Regions from separate parts of the Homo sapiens genome. Here region 1 is linked to region 2. Evidence: promoter capture Hi-C in 16 types of primary human blood cells and fetal thymus (Javierre and others, 2016). All regions are on one chromosome and are shown on one strand. Each heading gives the region's core, a stretch centred on a gene start or on the middle of the fragment in contact. The rest is flanking DNA. Distances are from core to core; before and after follow the strand shown. Region 1 has its middle 74 kb from the start of EGFL6. Region 2 holds the start of PRPS2 (phosphoribosyl pyrophosphate synthetase 2).

Region 1 (6,344 bases), core at 3,837-6,336, 710 kb after region 2:
TCCTAGGTAATGGTAATTGAGAGACTGTAGATAGCAGGCTGGTTTCTCCATAAGGAGCAAAATTAAGTGTTGCTGAAGCAATTCTGAAGTTCTAGCTGATAATAACTGCACACCAGCTGTTCCCATTTTATAATACTTTTCCATAAAGCCCCATATTTTAGCTTTTGCCTTTTTTTTTTTTTTTTGAGACAGGGTCTCACTGTGTCACCCAGGCTGGAGTGCAGTGGCACTATCTTGGCTCACTGCAACCTCTGCCCCCAGTTTCAAGTGATCCTCCCACCTCAGCCTCCCCGAGCAGCTGGGACTAGGGGCGCATGCCACCACGCCCAGCTAACTTTTCTATTTTTTAGTAGAGAAGGGGTTTCACCATGTTGGCCAGGCTGGTCTCAAACTCCTGACCTCAAGTGATCTGCCCGCCTCAGCCTCCCAAAGTGCTGGGATTACAGGCATGAGCCACCACGCCCGGCCTTAACTTTTGCTTTTTAAAAAATCTTTTTCCCTTATTATGGAATTTGTATCTTTTACCTGTATGGTGGCTCAAAAGTGAGCAAAGTAAAAAGAAGGAACGCTAAGATTAGAAAAAAAAATAAGAAAAAATCCACAGGACTTCAGAAGTGACAGGCAGCACTTGTCCTTTCTAATGAAAGGTTGGATCATTGTCTGTTGTTGGGGCTGAACCCCATCTGGAGCTAGGGGTGGGAGTCATGAGAACACGGTACAGTTCCCATGATTTTGCCATTGGCCATCTTCTCTCTTTGCTCTTCCACTATGGTCTTTTTCAAATTGCATTTATTCTGCAGGTTCTTGACTCTGCTGGGAAGCCTTAAATCAGAGATCCTGATTTAGTTGGTCTGGGAATTGGAGTCGTAGGCATCAGTATTATTTTAAAACTCCCCGATTTTGAACAATTGGTATTGTTCAAAAATCCTTATGTGCACCAGAGGTGAGAACCACTGATTTCCTCTCTGCATTGCTGTTTGGTTGACTAATTTGGGGCACTTGACCATACTAGCTCTGATGAAACTGACTCAAATGAAATTCAAAGTTCATTCATTTCAAACATATGACGAAAAAAAAGCAGGAATCCCTCCCCTACCCAGGGCATAGTTTAAATTGTGACCAGTGCTAAGAACGGCCTCTGGGTAGCCAAAAATAATGATCACAAAGTTCCTGCCCTGAAGTTGGTCTGATTTCTTCTCACAGGGAACTCTACCGGCCAGGACATTTCTGAATTAGCCACTTGCCTCAGTTATGCCCTTGAACAACTTTGTAGAAAGTTGGGACAGAGCTTATTATCCATATAGATGAGTTGGGTATGTTATCAAGTAGACAATTTGGGGACCCTCTTGGCATTCTCAGTGCAAACTATGTTGGTTCCTCAGTAATACAAGTAGAACAACTGGTCACCCAGACTTGGAGTGAGTGTCCTGCATTGTTTGTAAAGACTGTTTTGCAAGTGGAATTCAAATGTGGTGAATTGCACTAAGACTTCCAATCAAATCCAATTGAATGACATGCATATAGACCAGGGTTTCTCAGCCTCGGCACTATTGACATTTGGGGCTAATTATTCTTTTGTGGGGGCTGTTCAGTGGATTGTAGAAGGCTTAGTAGCATCCCTGGTCCCTACTCACTAAACACCAGTAGCATCCCCACCTCCTGGTTTTGACAACTAAAAATGTCTCCAGACATTGCCAAATGTCCGCTTATGAGGAAAAACTGTTCCTGTTGAGAACCACTAATACAGACTCACTGTTAGTTTGTCAATTAAAAAAAAACCAGTGTTGTTGTTTTGAAATTTCTCAGTTTCAAAAGAATCAGTTGAGAAGGGCTCCCTTCCAAAATTCTTCTCTGTCTGCTTCCTTCTAGTCCCTTCTGCTCCCATCACGCCATGCACACCAGCAGCAAGAGTGAGCATTGCTCTGGGACCACAGTTCTCAACCAGGCGTTGCTCCCCAGGGGATATTTGGCAATATCTGGAGACATTTTTGTTTGTCAATACTGGGAGGTGGGCAGGTGCAACTGTCATCTAGTGGGTGGAGGCCAGGGCTGCTGCTAAACATTCTCCAGTGCACAAGACAGCAGCCCCCAACATACACAATAAAGAATTACTGGGACCAAGATATCAATAGAGCTGAGGTTGATAAACCTTGATTAAAAACAAACATGTCCACAAAGTCCAAACTGAAGAACCATTTGGGGAAATCTTTAATAATATATATGAGTGGTTCTCAATGGGGGTGATATTTGTCCTTTCGGGACATTTGGCAATATCTGCAGGTATTTTTCTTTGTCACAGCTGGGGAAGTGGGGTGCTACTGGCATCAAATGGGTAAAGGCCAGGGCTGCCACTAAACCTCCTATAGTACATTAGAGAGACTCCCACAACAAAGGACCATCAGGCCCCAAATTGCAATAGTGCCAAGGCCTATTACTCTAGGATCACTTCCGTTGTGACCATGGGACCCCCTAGTTTTTCCACCCCTGTTGACTCAGTGCTTTGGCTTCTGTTTTCTATATCTGCCCTAGTGTCACCCATCCAGGTTTGGATGTCTAGACCTGATGCAACTTTGGCACAGCAATAGGGTGGCTCAGAAGGAAGCTTGGCACAGAGCTCAGCTCTAGAACAGATCAATACTGGGAAGCAGGCCAGTTCTCATCAAAGGTTCAGCAGGGTGGGGTCAGGGGAGGCAAGCCACAGGCATAATTCAAGATGGATGACAGCACAAATGGCCCTGCAAAAGACACTATGTTCTGCCAGGTGTGGGGACAGAGTGGCTGGGAATCTGAAGCAGTAAAGAGTTTTACTGTAAAATCAGGCTGCTTCTGTAAAGTCAAGCAATGAGTAAAAGTCCCAGCCAGCAAGCTGGGGTTTGAGGACAGGGCTAAATCCTGGGGTGGGACACCTTGTGAAACAGTAAGTCAGGACCCCAGGAAGAGGCAGGAACACGGATACTTTGTAAACCAGCTGAAGGAGGATTTGAATCAGGGACTAAAGCACAACTGTGGGCCGAGCCTTGTGGTTCATGCCTGGAATCCCAGCACTTTGAGAGGCCAAGGTGGGCAGATGATTTGAGCCCAGGAGTTTGAGACCAGCCTGGGCAACATGACGAAACCCTATCTCTACAAAAAATACAAAACAGCCCAGTGTGGTGGTACATGCCTGTGGTCCCAGCTACTCGGGAGGCTGAGGTGGGAGGATCGCTTGAGCCCAGGAGGCGGGGGCTGCAGTGAGTTTTGATCGCATGGCTGCACTCCAGCCTCTGTCTCAAAAAAAAAAAAAGCACAACTACGATACGGGACAGATGGGAGGCTTGGGCTCAGTTTAGAAAAAGATGTTCGTTAACAGAGTGGAGATGCCATGGGGGAGGGAGGTGGTGACATGGAAAACGTTACTGAGTTCAGTAATAAGCAACAGGACACTGCACCTTGAGTCTGAAAAATAGGAACCCTGATTTTACAACAAAGAGAAACTCTCCCTTCTCCCTAACATCACACGTGTGTGCATGCGCGCATACACACACACGTGCATGCATACACACACACACGTGCATGCGCACACACCACCTCTAACATACTATGGGACTCACTGAGACAATTCCTGCCTGTATGCAGGATTGGTCTGGAGCACTGGGGATCATGCTGAAGCAAAAGTTGCTCCATGAACAGAGCAGAAGCGAAGCAATTGAGGCCAAAATTGTAATCAGCTTTTTGTGTGTGTTTTTGTTTTTTAATAGCATCAGCTTTGTTTTTTAAATTATTTATTTTAAAAAGTTTTAAACATAACATATATTCCTTATAGAAAATCTGGAAACTACAAAAGAATAAAAAAAAGAGAAAAAAAAGACTTACATCCCTATACTACCTCTGTTAATATTCTTCTAGTCTTTTTTGTTTTTGCCAAGATTTATTTTTACACAAAGAGAAAATATATTTCTATGTGTCACTTTGTATCCTTAACATCATGACAGAATCATTTCCCTTGCTATTACAAATTCAACATGAATAAGTTTTGTGACATTTCTTGGTTTTGTCTGTTTGTAAAGTCAACCCATTCTCCATGTAGAAAATTTGGAAAGCATGAAAAAGTGTAAAAAATGTACATAATCTATGATTCCATATCTAAATGATAATCACTCAAGATGTTGGTGGGATTTTTTCTTGTCTTTTTTTTTCGCTTTGATGGTACCTTTATTCTAATGATAATTAACTGGTGTTCACCTTATAATTTGCTTGACATATAGTAATTATCCAGGCAATATCATCCTTCCAGAATTTTGCCATGGCCAGGGCCTTGTATATTTGAATCCATAAGAAAATGTTAACTTTTTTCTTCAGATGGACCCTGGGTTTATACTTCACTTTGGATTCTTCCAAGTAATAAACTCCCAACCCAAGTAGTAGACAGGGAAACCTTCTTTTCCCTACTCATCACTATTCTTGTAGAGCGTACTTCCCCCTCTTTCTTGATGGAAATGCTCTGCAATATATCAGATTTGGTGGTGTGGATAGGACAACTAAAAATGCCTATGAATCCGTAGCTGGAATCTCATTAAGGATTTTGGTGATCATTGGTTTGTATAATTCAAACCTTATTTTATACATGTACATACACCCACAAACAAGAATTTGTCCCCAAACAAAATTGAGGTTTGCCTCTAAAACTCTTAGGAATGGAGATATTTGTCCAAAGGTAACACAGGATGTTGGTAAAAATAATGGCTTAAAGTCAGAAGGCCAGAGTTTGAATTGACCTTGACTACCCAGTCATGGGAATTTAGCAAATTGTTTCTCTTCCCTGAGCCTCAGTTTCCTTGTCTATAAAAAGGAGACATTAGCTACCTCATCAAGGATTAAGTGAAGTAACAAGTACAGACAACATAATAAATGGTGAAAGATTTATATGATGTGAAGAGAGAAATAGAACTGCCGTTCCACCCAGCAATTCCACTACTGGGTATCTGCCCAAAGTAAATCATTATATTAAGAAGACACTTGCACTTGTATATTTATTGCAGCACTATTCATAATAGCAAAGTTATGGAATCAACCTAAGTATCCATCAGCACATGATTGGATAAAGAAAATATGGTACATAGACACCATGGCATACTATGTAGCCATAAAAAAACAATGAAATGATGTCTTTTGCAGCAACATGCATGGAGCTGGAAGCCATTATCCTAACTGAAATAACTTAGAAACAGAAAATCAAATATCACATGCTCTCGCTTATAAGTGGGAGCTAAACAATGGGTGCACACGGACTTAAAAATGGAAATATGAATGATAGACACTGGGAGCTCCATAAGGGGGAAGTGGAAGAGGATGAGAGTTGATAAATTACCTATTGGATACTATGTTCACTATTTGGGTGATGGCTACATTAGAAGCCCAAAACCCACCATTACATAATATATCCATGTAACAAACTTGCACGTTCCCTGAATCTATATTTAAAAAAAAAATACAAACTATAGTGGGTGACATAGAAGAACCCCTTTATTAGATACCGGCAGTGAGCCAAGTAAGTTGCTATGTCACAGGCTGGCAAACTATGGCCCAAGGGCCAAATCTGGCATACTGCCTGTTTTTGTAAATAAAGTTTTATTGGAACACAGCCAAACCCATTCACTACTGTATTGCTTATGGCTGCTTTCATACTGTGTTGGCAGAGGGGAGTAGTTGCCACAGAGACTGTGGGGCCCTGAAAAGCCTGAAATATTTACTACCTGGTTCTTTACAGAAATTTATTTCCCACCCCTGTGTTAAATGTTTCCCCAAAACCACAGAGGTAAATTATATTGTCTTCCCATTTCACAGGTCAGGAAACTGACACATGCAGAGATTAAGGACTTGCTCACACTGCTGTTATTGAATTGGATCTTGATCCCAGGTCTATCTCAATTCAAAGTTTAGCAACCACTCTACAATGCTTCTTCAAAAGATATATGAATTAAATCTGAACTCTCATAGCCTTAACTTCCACTTCTGCCATAACATCTCACTTTCAACCATTGATAATGATTGAGCCTTGAATATAGACATTAGTGTCTCTTACATTCATTCCAGCATGCTGTTACATAGCTCCTCCAAAAGAAACCACATCTCAACTTCAAACCAGTATATCAAACTGCAAGTCAGGGAAATGGATGAAACTATGGCATTGTCAGAGTCAAGAACTGTGAAGGATCTGAGATTTGATCCTACTAGCAGTCTCATGAGTTAGTCTGCCACAGTTTCATGGATTCTGGCAAAAGATATGAGACTCTTGGGTCAGAGACAAAAGAGACTTCATTATTCTCAGAACTACAAGCAGCATGAGTTTTCATATTCACATCAGA
Region 2 (5,803 bases), core at 2,472-4,971:
TCTATTTTAACTTATTTTTAAAGTACATTGCTTATAAATGTTAGCATTTCATAATAAGTTATAAATTATTTGCCACACCCCTAATAAAAACATACAAGAAAAAGGTTATGTCAGAGTGTCTTGGCATTGCTCTTAGGAACTAGTGTTCTAGAACTTCTTGTTCTAATACAGCAACTATCAGCCACATGTGGCTGATGAGCACTTCAGATATGGCAAGTCCAAATTAAGATGTGCTGTAAGCGTAAAATCTATATTGGATTTTGAAGGCTTGACACAAAAAGATGCAAAGTAGCTCATTAATATGTTTTATGTTGATTACATGTTGGAATGATAATATTTTGGATATTGGATTAAAGTGTATTATTAAAATTACCTTCACTTGTTTTTTATATTCTTTTAAAATACAGCTACTAAAGTGTAAATTACATATGTGGCTTGCATTATATTTCTTTTTAAAAAGTTTAAAATTTTTTCATAGAAACATATAGGAAACAATCATTACATTTCTTTTGGATGGTACCATTCTAGAGAGAAAAGGACTGGACTAGAAGATCCACATTCTAATTCCTTTGCTGCTTTCAACTAGCCATGTGACTTGGGGAAATTTCTTCCGTTTCTCAGCCCTAAAATAGTCAGGGATAAATTCACTCAGCAAATACTTAGACTTCTTACTATATACAAAGAACTTGGCTAGATGATGTGGGAAATAGAAGACGTGAAACTGTTCATAAATTCAAATCATTGTTTTACCGTTAATCTCTATCCATGAGTCAATGAAGATAGAAATCAACAATAGAAAATATCTCATCATTTTAATTTTTTCCACTAACATTTTATCTTAAGATAATGTATATTTTATAAACGGTCTGAGACCCAGATCACATATGCACAGAGTATATGTTCTTTTTCTCTTCTAAGTCTTGGGTCTTTGAACAAGTGTTCCATTTTTCCAGAGGCTCCCCAACTTCAAATGTTGTTCAAGAAGTGCACTGTGGTAGACAGTTGGTGGACAGTACTCATGCCCTCCAGTTGTCCCATACCATGTTGACAGCTGGTCTTGGCCATGTAACTTGCTTTGGTCAATGAGACATTAGCAAGCAAGTTAAAAACAGAGGTTTGATAAGCACTTGCTCATTGAGACTTATCTTCTTGGAACACTCCTTGGAACCTTGCAGCCATGCCGTAAGGAAGCCCAAACAACCATGAAGAAAGGCCCACATGGAGGAGAGAAGGGCCAGGGGTTCTTTCAAACTAGTGATTCTCAACCTGTGGTGATTTTGCTCCTTGTAGGACATTTGGCAATGTCTGGGGACACTTTTGGTTGTCACAGTGGTGGATAGGTGCTACTGGCATCTAGTGGGTAGAGGCAAGGGAGGCTGCTAAACAATCTGCAATGCACAGGACAGTCCCACAACAAAGAATTACCCAGCCTAAATATCAGCTGTGCTGAGGTTCAGAAACCTGCTCTAGACCAATGTTTCCCACAACCTGGCTCCTATGGATCAAGGATAAAGGCATTTGGGAGAGAAAGTTTTCACACTTAAATAAAATTATCTGTAGCTGCTCATTTACAAGTGACAGCTTTCTGAACAGTCTGTGACTCATGATGATTTTTCAATGATTCCCATTAGTATTCTCATCAACCCCAATGGCACATTTCACCTTGTTTACATTTAGCATTTAAGCAGAGTAACTCATCAAACTATTGAACCAACAATCATTGTATTAGTTGCCCCAACTGAGATATTGTTTCTCCTTGGTGCTATCAAGTCCATGGTTTGTCACAATTCAATCCGAGCTTCCAAATCTGCAGCCATTTACCCACCCAAAGACCAGGGGCTTTAACTTTTACTGTTTTATAGTCCATCAGCTTTGGTTCTGTGTTACCAAAGAACCACAGCCCCATCATGCTAAGAGGATGCCACTTTCCCTTTGAGAAGAGCATCTATATATTTAGAAGAAACCATTATTAGTCAATTTTATCTATGAGAGAAATATTAAGAATATAAAAATTATAGTAATTTGCTGATAGTAAATTTTATTAGAAGAGTTTAAATATAACTACATTAGCAGACTCAATAAAAATTTTAAACATAGTGGGTCAAGTATAAATCTCATTGCTATGGTAATTAGCTGTGAAATACATAGATAATAAACCATTGCAGATAGGGGTTTTTGTTTGTTTTCTCACATAATAGGGCACATATGCATCTCTAGGCGGAATGAAAAAGGGCCAGAAATGCTGCTAAAATTGTCAGTTTGAATAACTTTTTGATAGGCTGGCAGATACAAAAGTTTACAAGAAACACTCGATGTGCCAAGTAATCTCCTTGCAAAGTACAAGGACCCAGATGAAAAATCCCAATGATGCGAATCATCCCTGTAATCTCCCAAATCCCATTATGAAGTCTGATTAGAGTAGGCTACAACCCAATTGCAAGTGGGCTTTGCTGTTGATGGAGAGCCAATTCGTGGCAAACATTAGTAAAACCAAGCCATTTATCTACCCGGTTGAATCAGCCTTTGTTGAGGAGTGTGAAACTGTGACCAGCATCACCAACCAGCCCTCTATAGACAGGGACTGCTTTCCTTTCTCCTACACTTGGTTTGTGCCCTGAAGTTGGCTCTGGTACTGCATTGGCATCTTGAGAAAACCTTTTTGCTGGTTTCTAGCAGGAAAGAGAGGAAGGAGGCCCTGACTCCAGGGATGTGGAGGGACTGAGCTGGATTGTCTAGGGAGATCTGTGTTCCTGGGATCAGGCCCTTGAGCACCCAACAGGCAGAAGGTTGTGAAGTGCCCCAAGGACCATCACATCTACCGAAAAATGGTGAATCTGGGGGACTTGGTTTGATCCAGTGAGCCACCAAGAGCAATACTTCCCCTCAGCCTGTGATGAGGACTCACATAGTGGTTGGATTTTTTAAGGACACATGGTGCAGGGGCAACTCTGTAGTTCAGGGGTCATCAAGTTTGAACTATGAGGGACCACATGGCCAATATTTACATTTTGCAGACCAAGCAAGAAAAGGGAAGATATTACGTAGGAACTTACATAACAAGAGAGAAAAAATTGTCACAATGTTTTTATTGATATAATCCAAAATACGGTAATATTTGAGTACAATTATTTGCAACTCACATCTATTAATGAGAGAAAAGGAATTCTTTTGCGGGGGGGATATTTCTCTTAATTGGAGTTCAAAGGCGGTGTCTGCTATCATCACATAAAGTGCAAATGTTCATGTATGAAAACCATGCTTAGCTCTCTGGTACAAACACAGGGAGCTCTCGCGATCTGGCCCATAGGCTGTAGTTTGCAGACCCTTGCTATAGCTGAACACCAGTCGCCCACACTGGGTTTGCGGTGTTCCGGGGTGGGAAGTCGCTCCGGGCTGCGAAGCACCTCGAGGGATCCCCCCGGCCCGAACTCTCCCTCTGTGCCCAGCTAACCGCGGTTCATTGGCTCTCCCCGCGAGGCAGGTCTGGAAGATCAAGAATGAAGCTCGGAGCTCTCTCGCGGAGCAAGGACACCTTCGGGCTTCAGGACCACCCAGGGCGTCCAAAACTGCTGCCAGGGCTGTGCCCCCGCCCCCCGGCACTTTCCAGCTCCCCCTCCACGCCCGCTCTTCCTCCCTCTCTGCCCCCTCTAGCTCCTCCTCCGGCTCCTCCCCCTCCGCTCCTCCCCTTCCCTACATCTAGCCGCCGCGCTTTCCCGCTCCCGCAGCAGCAGCCTCCCGCGTCGCTGTCGCTGTTGCCTCCGCCACCTCCTCCGCCGCCGCGCGCCCCTCGGAGTTCCGCGCCCCACCATGCCCAACATCGTGCTGTTCAGCGGCAGCTCGCATCAGGACCTGTCCCAGCGCGTGGCCGACCGCCTGGGCCTGGAGCTGGGCAAGGTGGTCACGAAGAAGTTCAGCAACCAGGAGACCAGGTGGGGGCCGCGCCGGCGGCCGGGCTAGGGAGAGCGCTGGGCACGCGGCTGCGGGGCCGGGTTGGGGGCCGGCGCCTGCCCGGGCCACCTCCGCGGACGCCGCGCTCCCCCTTCCGGGGCGGGACGGTGGCAACGCGGCCTCCGCGCCCCCGCGCCCGCGCCTGCGAAGAAACCGAGGCGGGGCGCCGCGCGTCCCGATGCGCGCCTCGGCTGTGCCCCCGGTTGCAGGGCCTCCGGTCCTGGGACCGCGGCGACCCGGCGGTCCCGAGCCGCTCCCGGCCTCCCAGCGGTGCCGCCCGGCCTGGCGTCCCCAGCCCGGAAGGGAGACGTCTGGGCGGTCACAGACCGTCGGGGAGAGAGTGGGCGCAGCGGGCGGGAACCGCATCGGGTCAGCGCGCGGTGGAGAGACGTCCTGGGTTGGCTGGTCCCAGTTTCCGCGTCCCTACAAAGCTGAACCTCAGACCAGTGCGTGCGACTAAAGGTTTCCCCCCGTCCCCAACTCTGGTTGCACGCTGGGTTTACCTGGGGACGGTCCGAACGCTGCTTCCCCCGACCTGCCCCCAAGGGTTTGATCCAACGGGCGGAGGATCAGCGATTTTACAAGCTTCCCTGGCTTCTCCTGAGCAGCCAGGGCGCAGACCACTGCGTTATCCAGAGGGTGCAGTTGTGCCAAGGTTTGAAAGACTGTGAGAACCCCAGGACGCACGTGCTGGGCTCCCCTCTGCTCCCACTACTCTTGCTGCTTTAAAGATGATGGACTTTCAGCTTCCTTCTTGTTCTAGGACTCTGCTGTGTCCAGCAACAACGCCGTGATTCGACTGTAACTTTCACCCATTTCTCAAGTCCAGGAGAGCCTCAGGTGGTGGCCATCCTCGGAAGCTGACCTGGGGGGCTCCTTTGTCTATCTGCCTGAGTCCACACAGCTCCTTGACTCATTTCAAATTGGTCTCATTTTTCCCCCTTCTTCCTCCAATGTCTAGTACCGTTAACTGTCCACAGTTACTGATAATTTTTATATCTTTGGCAAAGGTTCAATTTTACCAACATTTTCTAGAAATGGTGTTGGAACAGTTGGACACCCATATGCCAAAAAATATGAACTTCCATCCATACTTTTCACCATTTGTAAAAATTAACTTTGAAGTGGATCATAGACCTAATTGTAAAATCTAGAACTATAAAATTTCTAGCAGAAAATCTTGACTTGGGGTTAGGCAAAAATTTCTTAAGGAGGAGTTATGTTAATACTGATGGGGAAGATGCTATATTTTGGCAAGTCAGCTTTTTAGGATATGTGAATCTTACGTGACTTCTTCCAGGTGGCAAATTCCAGTTATGGCTCCGATGATAATATAAGCGAAGAAACATTGTGAATGAGTGGCAGGTGGACTTTGGCTAAAGAATTCCACTCTGCAGTGTTTAATGCAGAAGTCTGAGAGGATGGTCTAGGGCTCTGGAGAAGGATAGAGCTAGGTTTGAGTGTTGCAGTATTTTGCCAGTCTTGTTCAAGTTTCAGTCGCTGTAAGAACACGAGAAGAAGAATAGTTTTTGTTCAGAAGGTGTCGTCATATAAGTAAAGGAGAAATTTGTTGATGAAGTAAATTTTGAAAGCAAATATGTTGCCCTTCCAGGTACTCAGTGCAGCATGATCTTTTGCTAAGGAGCATGGTTAATCTAGATCAGTTCACTGCTAAGTCAGTGTTGAGTTTCTCCTAAAAATACCACATGTGCCACTGGGCAAAACTCACTCAGACACTGAAGTATGATTGTTTATACATTTGGTTCAAATATAAAGCAGACTCACTTTTATTTTGTTTTTGGCATTTTATAACCATCACTTGATAATTAGAAATCGTGGGACCTCAAAAACCACT

What was found. Contacts are between HindIII fragments. The CHiCAGO score rates a contact against its expected background, and 5 or more counts as called.
Region 1: a contact is called between a fragment that was not itself captured here and the fragment with the promoter of PRPS2 in region 2, in 3 of 17 cell types (total CD4 T cells, monocytes and activated CD4 T cells). The highest score is 6.0, in total CD4 T cells.

The regions. Positions count from the first base shown.
Region 1 is chrX:13,492,804-13,499,147 of GRCh38, forward strand. No RefSeq gene overlaps it. Among named protein-coding and RNA genes, the nearest start is that of EGFL6, 74 kb to the right of the region's middle. The HindIII fragment of the contact is 4,972 bases long and covers 2,601-6,344 here.
Region 2 is chrX:12,787,691-12,793,493 of GRCh38, forward strand. It overlaps PRPS2 (phosphoribosyl pyrophosphate synthetase 2), which reads left to right and starts at 3,722. Exons shown (of 7, transcript NM_002765.5): 1 at 3,722-3,929. The coding sequence starts at 3,808. RefSeq lists a silencer at 3,978-4,427. The HindIII fragment of the contact is 8,457 bases long and covers 1-4,531 here.